3 separate regions of the Homo sapiens genome follow, and regions 1 and 2 are each linked to region 3. Evidence: promoter capture Hi-C in 16 types of primary human blood cells and fetal thymus (Javierre and others, 2016). All regions are on one chromosome and are shown on one strand. The core of a region is centred on a gene start or on the middle of the fragment in contact, and the rest is flanking DNA. Distances in the headings are between cores, read along the strand shown. Region 1 overlaps SNRPF-DT (SNRPF divergent transcript). Region 2 overlaps CCDC38 (coiled-coil domain containing 38). Region 3 holds the start of CDK17 (cyclin dependent kinase 17).

Region 1 (2,700 bases), core at 174-2,673, 550 kb before region 3:
ATCATATAATGTGCTATTAAATATACTGTTTTTATTATCTTCTGCTGCCGTATATACTGCCTTCTTTTTTTGAGACAGAGTCCCATTCTGTCGCCCAGGCTGGAGTGCAGTGGTGCCATCTCGGCTGACTGCAGCCTCTGCCTCCTGCGTTCAAGTGATCCTTGTGTCTCAGCCTCCTGAGTAGCTGGGCTTACAGGCATGCACTACCATGCTTGGTTAATTTTTGTACTTTTAGTAGAGACGAGGTTTAGTAGAGATGGGGTTTCACCATGTTGGCCAGGCTGGTCTTGAAATCCTGGCCTCAAGTGATCCACCCACCTCGGCCTCCCAAAGTGCTGGGATTACAGGCATGCACCACACTGCCTGGCCTATACTGCTTTTTTAATATAACTCAATATATATGAACAAATTGTATGCATCCACTCATTTTCTGTCTCATCTGTTTCCCAGGTCCTTGATTGCTAGCTCCCTCCAGCTCCCTCTGCACTTAATGGCTAATAAATGTGGTTTTGGGTCTAGACTAATCTCTTATATCTTGAGTTATTAGGCAAACTAATTTTCTGGTCCATAAAGGGATTGGTCTCCCCATAAATATATAAGGTGCTACTTTTACATTGGTTTTACATTACTTAAACCAAGCTTTTGGGGATAATTAGATTTTGATTGAATATAAATGTAGGAGAACAAATATTTATCGAACTGACCAGATATTGTACTGCGTTGCATATATTATCTCATTTAATGTTCTTCATTTAATGTTAACCCTGTGAGAGTCAGGAGAGAACCCCAACTTCAGGTAGCAAGGAGTAAACCTGCTGTCTCTCCACAGGTGCTGAAAGGAGACAATGAGACTATGTGGATCAGAACAAGACAGTTTACTACACACAGCAAACAGAAGCATTGTCTTAGCCATGTCAGCCTCCCTTGCCCCCCAGGTCCCAAGAGGTGAAGTGATAGACCCAGACAGATAGATGTGCACAGTGGATTCCAGCACAGCTGAAGAATCAAAGCCAACAGCCCAGAACTTTTTGAGCAAGCAGCAGTTTAGCAAACAGCAAACAAGTAGTCCAATATTAGTTATTAGCATTAGTTATTGTAGGTCACATTGACCTACTCACGTGCCTACGTACCTCGCTACAGAAACTATTCAGTATCAGGAGGTGGATAAACACCACAAATATTGTATCCTAATAGCAGCCTTATAAGATGGGTATTGAACTGGGCATGGTGGTATACACCCATAATCCCAGCCACTTGGGAGACTGAGACAGGAGGATTGCTTGAGCCCAGGAGTTTGAGACCAGCCTGGGCAACATAGTTACAGCCCACCTCACTAAAAAAAAATTTTTTTAAGATAGGTACTATCATGATCATCCTCTTTATTGATGAGGAGATTGAAGCAGAGATAAGCTGCACATGGCAGAGTCAGGATTTGAACTCAGACAGTATTGGCTCCTACCCACAATACCAGGTTTCCTTTGTTGGGGCTCAGAAAATGATACCCCGAAGCATACTGCTACTTTGCACTAAAGCAGCAGCCTCAGAACCAAGGTCTGACCTTCTCTCTGACCTTCTCCCACCCCCCATCTCTTGCCCCTCCTCCTCTCCTGAAGCACAGGAAGAGACTTTTCTCTGAAGTTTCCTTATCTACCTAAAGATCCAATCCACTGAAGAGGAAAACAATTGTCTTCAATCTTCTTACTGAAATTTCATTAACCAAGGAAAATTAAACTCATATCACAGAGGAAAAGACTGAAAATCAAACACCATACCCACAGCCCAGATGAACTTTGTCCCAGACTATTGTCTGTTCCATGGACCCATTCATCTCTTGTAAAAATCACTTATTACTCTTCTAAAATTGCCTACATCCTGCATTCCCCTCTCCCCTATGCATAAGGGTATATAAACTTCTAGACCTTATTGGGTCTAGCACTACTAGAATTGGGCATTCGCCTTCCTGTGATGCTCCCATGCGCATAAATCAATTACGCTGTGCTTTTTCTCCTTGTTTTGGATAGATAGACCAATTGGTCTATTGTCTATTTATTTCTCAGACTCAAATATCAAACCTCAAGAGGTGAGAGAGGAGGTTCTTATGCTCCTACACCTTTGAGGTATGATTGTCTCTCTATAATGGTACAATGGGCTTTGAACCACCAAAAAGATTTGAATTCTAATCTAGGTTCAGTGTTTGTATGATCCAAAGAAGCTTATATATTTTTTAATCTTAACTTCTTCGGTAGACAGAATACCATATCTCTCAGGTTTGACAAAAAATATATAAAAAGCTTCCACCTGACAGCATTCAAATCTTGGATTTTTCCTCCTTTAAACCTATTCCGATCATACCTGTAGCTGATTCTGGCCATAATCAGAAAAAAATAAGATGTTGGAATTATGAGAATAAACAAAATAAAAAGAAGAGCTCATCAATTTCAAAAGTAACTTCCTAAATGCTATCCCTCTTCATTGACTGCATTAATATTTGTATTTCTATATATTTGTTTATTTGTACTCTACTTAACCACATTTTTGGGAGCGGCAGCATCGTATAAAGGAAAAATCTTAGGCTTTGGAGCCATTTTACCTTCCACATGGCTTTTGACAAAAATACATAATCTCTCTGAAGCTGTCTCCTCATCTCTAAAATGGGGATGATAATAATATCTACCTTGAAGTACTGTGAGGATTTAAATT
Region 2 (2,700 bases), core at 137-2,636, 530 kb before region 3:
AGTTTTTTTTAAAGCTTGCTTTATGTTCAATAAGATCCCATCAGGATCACCATGATATAGTCTGGACATCATTTTTACTGTGGGTAAGCATATCCACCCTACATCCATAAAGTAGTAGGCAATAACAAAATATCTAACACTACTGGCTAATATTTGAGTACTTACTATGCGCCAAGCATGCTCTCATAATTTACTTGGATCATCTAATTTAATCCTCACAACAACCTGTATTTATCAGTATTACTCCCGTTTTACGGATAAAGAAACCGACTAGAGTGCTTATGTTGCCTAAGGTCACAAAGTCATAAATAGTTGAACTGAACTCACTCAGCATGGTCTAATCCCCAGGCTGGTAGCCTGAGTACTAGTCTGCCTCTCAACATGTTTTTTGCCATTACGTGAACATTATCCCACTTGTAAACATTCCCTACATGCCACAGTAAGCTAGGGGTCATATTTACAATAATCATTGCCTCAAACTAGGACAGTAGGCCCTCCATATTCACAGTTCCACATCTGGGCATTCAACCAACTGCAGATTGAAAATATTTGGAGAAAAGCCCCAACAATAAAAATAATACAAATTTTAAGAAATACAGTATGACAACTCTAGCATTTACACTATATTAGGTATAAGTAGTTGAGAAATGATTTAAAGTATACAGGAGGATGTACGTAGGTTATATGCAAATATGCCGTCTTATATGAGACATGAGCATCTGCAGATTTTGGTATCCTTGGGAGGTCCTGGAACCAATCCCCTACAGATACCAAGGGACAACTGTTTGTACTTAAAAGTTCTTATTTAACTTGGTATGGAAATTTGTAAGTGAACGCATTCTGAAAGGCCCCGGTCAGGCCATACCGCCCTCAATGCACAGATCTCCTTTGAAGGGCACCAAGCTATGTAAGCATGTGGGGGATGGGTTGGGGCTCCAGGGATGATAATCCTCATGAGGTTGTCTTGAGGAATAAATGAGTGAATGTTGTGTACATGTTGGCAGTTATACACTGCGGAAAACCCTCATTGTGTTGCTCAGACTTTCAAACAATTCCTTCATTAGGAATTTGGAGCCCTTCATGGGAGAACCACAGGTAGATTGAGTCTGCTTGAAGTTTTCCCATGACAGGCTCCTAATTCTATATCTTGGGTCCTTCACCACCAGTGCAATTCTCCTTCCCCATGATAGCTATTCAAAAATTTTCATGTAATTACTTATTCATAAATTTCATATAATTACAAAGATTTGCTTTTCCAGGCTAGTTTGTCCATCCCAAACTAGGTCAGTTGCCCCTGGTGAACTCTGTTCACCCAGTTCCTTCCTTCGTGGTGCTCATTACCATTGGTAATGACACATTTATTTCCTAAGAGTATTTGATGAATGATCTCCCATGCTAAATAATAGCTATATGAGGAGAGCAGGGCTGGATTTCATTCCTCCTCACTGTGTCCCTATAATATGACATTACACAAGAGACTTGCTAATGTGTTTGTGGAATCTGAGCAAAACCAGCTACTCATTAAGTCATTCTTATCCTTATTGACTGTACTTTTGCCGCCATTCTTTCTGTTTCATCCTCTCAATTGCCTCCACATTTTCTTTGGGAATGGATTCGATGAGGTCACACAGTTCTACCAGGCGAGATTCTACTTTTACCAGCTTTTGAATTGGGTTGAGGCCGTCATCCTCAGCATCTCCAATGCAGACTTTGTATACTTGAGTAATCTTTTTACTAAGTGAGTCTATCAGTATTTCCTGAGATTGAGAAGAGCAGAAAACATTAACATCACATTCCACATTCAATAAATATACCATTTTACTATATTACAGTAAAATCCCATGTATATGCTATTAAATGTTTACATTTTTATTTTTATTATTTTTTTTGAGACGGAGTCTCACTCTGTCACCCAGGCTGGAGTGCAGTGGTGCAATCTCATCTCACTGCAACCTCCGCCTCCCAGGTTCAAGCGATTCTTGTGCCTCAGCCACCCAAGTAGCTGGGACTACAGGCATGCGCCACCACGCGCAGCTAATTTTTGTATTTTTAGTGGAGCTGGGGCTTCACCGTGTTGGCCAGGCTGGTCTTGAATTCCGGACCTCAGGTGATCGAGCTGCCTCGGCCACAGGCATCAGCCACTGTGCCTGGCCTAATGTTTACTTTTTAAAATGAGAAGTTTTAATAAATCATTGAGAAAATGCAGCAGTGATATTTAACCTATATTATAATTTATAGTCAGAGCATTACTATAGAACACCTTGGATTATTTTCTTAAAATATACTGAACTCTAGATATGAAAAGTAATTATAATGGGTGGAATATTTTTTGCTTGAATGTTTTTGTATATCTGACTCCCTAAGAATTCAAATACAGGCAACAAACATTTTAAATCGTTTTTTTGCCACTCGGATGCATTTCCTTTTGGCACAATATGTAACCCAGCCCCCCTCCTTTTTTGCATGTATTACTCTGTTATAATTGCGAAACTATAATCATCCTATGTAATAGTTCTCTGCCTTATCCTTATAGTCCAGGAGAGCAGGAGCTACATCTTATGCTTAAACTTACAACTAAAACAGTGCTTTGCACATAACTACGCACTGAATAAATGTTTGCTGAATAAATGACTAAATGCATTCTCAGAAAAAAAAGTTGCAAGCAAACAGGTACCCAGGCTGGCCTACCAAAGCCTTTTT
Region 3 (2,700 bases), core at 188-2,687:
AGAGAAGTTCAAGGCAGTTCAGGGTCAGAACAAGCTCAGACATCCTGTCATTAACAAATGTTCCCCAAGCTGAAAGCAAAATACTGCTTACCCGAAAAGGAGTGGGTGAAAAGTAGGGGGAGAACGAGGGAAAAACCACAGGAGAGTCAATGTGGCAGTGTGGGGGTGACAGGAGGGAGGGAATCTGGAGCTATCCAGCTGAGTTGGGGAGCAAAAGCATCGGGCATAGCATCGGGCACAAAAATGCTGAGAAAAGCAACTGCGACGGAGACAGCACTAGGCACCCTCCTCCCCCCATTTTCCCCTCCCCATCGGTTTGCTGGGTTTCCCACCTTCCCTCTACCTCCGCTCTTGACCAACACTCCGGGGTGTGACCCGCCAGCAGGAGGCTGCCCTGATCTTTGTCTCTACCCGCTCCCACGCGCGGGCTCCTCCTCCTCCTCCGCGCTCCCCACCCGCGCACAGCGCCAGCGTCTCCAAGGAGCTGCAGGCGCCGCGACCGCCGCCTCCTCGCCCACCTCCCGCGGACCCGCGCCCCTTCCTTCCCCTCCCGGGCAGCGTCGCCTGCGCCTCCAGCTCCACCCCCGCCGAGGGGACCTTTGTGTCTCGGGGGACTTTCTGCCTCTTTCCCCTCCTCCGCCTCGCGAGGAGACCGGCCTCCCCCGCAGACCAAAGCGGCAGCGAGCACCGGAGGCGGCGGCGTCTATATCTGTCGGCGCCTCCTGGGAAGCAGCTCGCAGACACTCACACCCCACCCGAGCCCCGGAAATCCCCGGGCGACCCAAGGTCCTCGCTGGACCGGAGAGGTGACAGGCGCACGCTAGCCCCCCGCGCCGCGCCTCCTCGCTCAACTTCCCGACCGGGCCTGAGCCACCCGCGCCCCCAGTAGCCCCCGCCCCCGCCTCTGTCCCACGCAGCCTCCCGGCCCCGCGGCCGACCCGACACCAGGGGAAAGCGCGGCGCGGACGCCAGCCGCCAACTCACCAGCAAGAGCGGGGACCGCGGGTCCCGAGGCGAGGCGAAGAGAGGCGCGGGGGGAAGCTGCTCCGCGGACGCCCGCGGCGACCGGATGCAAGTCCGGGTCTCAGCGGCCGGCAGACGTGAGGCGCTTCCGAGCGCAGGCCTCCGCCGCCACAGCCGCCTTCCGGCTCTCGCCGCGGGTCCGGAGCCTCGGGAGGGGCCGCGGGTGTCTCACGCGTTGCCAAGTCCCTCGGTCAACATGGCTCCCGCGCCGACGAGCCGCGCGGACGGCCCACTAATCCCCTCGGAGCAGCCGGGCGCGAGCGCGGCGGGCGCCGACGGCGGGCTGAGACTGTCTGGCCGGGCGCTGGCTCCTTCTCCGCGGCTCTGCGGCGGCCCGCGGGGAGCTCAGGAGACTGCGGGCGGCCGCGTTCGCTCCTTGCGTGTGCGTCGCTTTCACACTCGGCGGCTGCGGATTGACGCCTCCGCCTGTTCCCCGGAGGAGAGCGAGTGCAAGAGAAAAAACACTTTTATTGAAACGATCCAACCAGCGGCGGCGGAGAAAAGCGACCGGCCGCGGGAGCTTACCCCACCCCCGCCTGAGCGGCTCGCCGGGGGCAGCGCGACCCCTGCCGGCGGCGGCGGAGGCGGGGGCGGGGCCGGCGGCCGGGGGCGGGGCCTGCAGGGCGGGGCGGGTGTCCCCGGGAAACTGCCCGCTCCGAAATGCGGGCGTCGGGGGAGCGGCGGAGGGGGCCAGGGGACCCCACCGGAATGAGTGCCTGTCCGCAGCGACTGGGGGAGAAATTATGTGAATAATTCAGCCCCTCCAACATCCCCCTGCCCCTCAACTTCCCGCTACCAAACCAAAACTCGTGCTTCAGTTATACAAGTAATTACTGTACAAGGTGTCCATGCCACAGTTCTCCACTGACTTTCTAGAGAGTCCATGTCAAAGGACCCACACTGAAAGATGTTGATGGCTGCAACTTTTCTCCTTTGTTGTGTGTGGGTACGTGGGTACTAGTGCCGCAGTCTCTCACACACACGGCATCTATTCATTTAAACTACAGTACAGTGTTTTGTATATATTATCATGTGCCCGGCAATATGCTGAGTCCTCTAAGGACGGAGAGTCTAGCTGGGATGAAAGATGATCAATAACTATCATAAAAATCTGAACGTTATGAGCGGAGAAATACAAGGTGCTATGAAAACAGAAAGGACTACTGTTGCACGGGTTAGGTTTTGTTTTCTTGGGGGAGGCGGGCCGCGAGAGGTTGGCCCAGTTTCTGCAACTGTTTTTACTTTCTCCTTTCCCAGAGGCTAAAAGCTAGTTCAGGAATGAACAGCAGAGTGGCAGTGAAGACAAACTAAAGTAATACTGACCCACTTTTTTCCACTAATAAGGATAAAAGCATAAAGTTAAAACAAACTTAAACCCCTAGAGGGAGATAATGAGAGGATTGAAAGAAGAGAGTAGGGACCGGATGTAGACAACATAAACAAGAAAAAAAAACCCACATAAAAGTCCTGTGAAGTGAGATAAATTTTTTTTCCCATGTTAACACCCGGAAGTAGAAGCTGCTTTGAAGTTTCAAATCACATTATGTGCTAAGAACTTCGGGGAATTATCTTTTTGGATTTAGGGATGAATCCTTTCCCCCTTAAAAATGCTGCATGCTGACATCTTTCTCTTATTTTGTTTGGCAAAGTTAAATGCATCTACAGTTATATCCAACG

The links. The method cuts DNA at HindIII sites, captures the fragments that hold promoters and counts their contacts. A CHiCAGO score of 5 or more calls a contact.
Region 1: a fragment that was not itself captured here is called in contact with the fragment with the promoter of CDK17 in region 3 in 3 of 17 cell types (fetal thymus, monocytes and naive CD4 T cells); the score reaches 6.7 in fetal thymus.
Region 2: a fragment that was not itself captured here is called in contact with the fragment with the promoter of CDK17 in region 3 in 1 of 17 cell types (neutrophils); the score reaches 6.3 in neutrophils.

Annotation. Positions count from the first base shown.
Region 1 is chr12:95,852,819-95,855,518 of GRCh38, forward strand. The region is part of intron 1 of SNRPF-DT (SNRPF divergent transcript); the gene reads right to left. Among named protein-coding and RNA genes, the nearest start is that of SNRPF-DT, 4.7 kb to the right of the region's middle. The HindIII fragment of the contact is 1,573 bases long and covers 638-2,210 here.
Region 2 is chr12:95,870,704-95,873,403 of GRCh38, forward strand. CCDC38 (coiled-coil domain containing 38) reads right to left here. Exons shown (of 16, transcript NM_182496.3): 14 at 1,552-1,757. Among named protein-coding and RNA genes, the nearest start is that of SNRPF, 13 kb to the left of the region's middle. The HindIII fragment of the contact is 2,748 bases long and covers 13-2,700 here.
Region 3 is chr12:96,399,002-96,401,701 of GRCh38, forward strand. CDK17 (cyclin dependent kinase 17) reads right to left here and starts at 1,438. Exons shown (of 17, transcript NM_002595.5): 1 at 985-1,438. RefSeq lists silencers at 842-1,001, 1,182-1,361, 1,452-1,781 and an enhancer at 2,202-2,421. The HindIII fragment of the contact is 3,343 bases long and covers 1-2,700 here.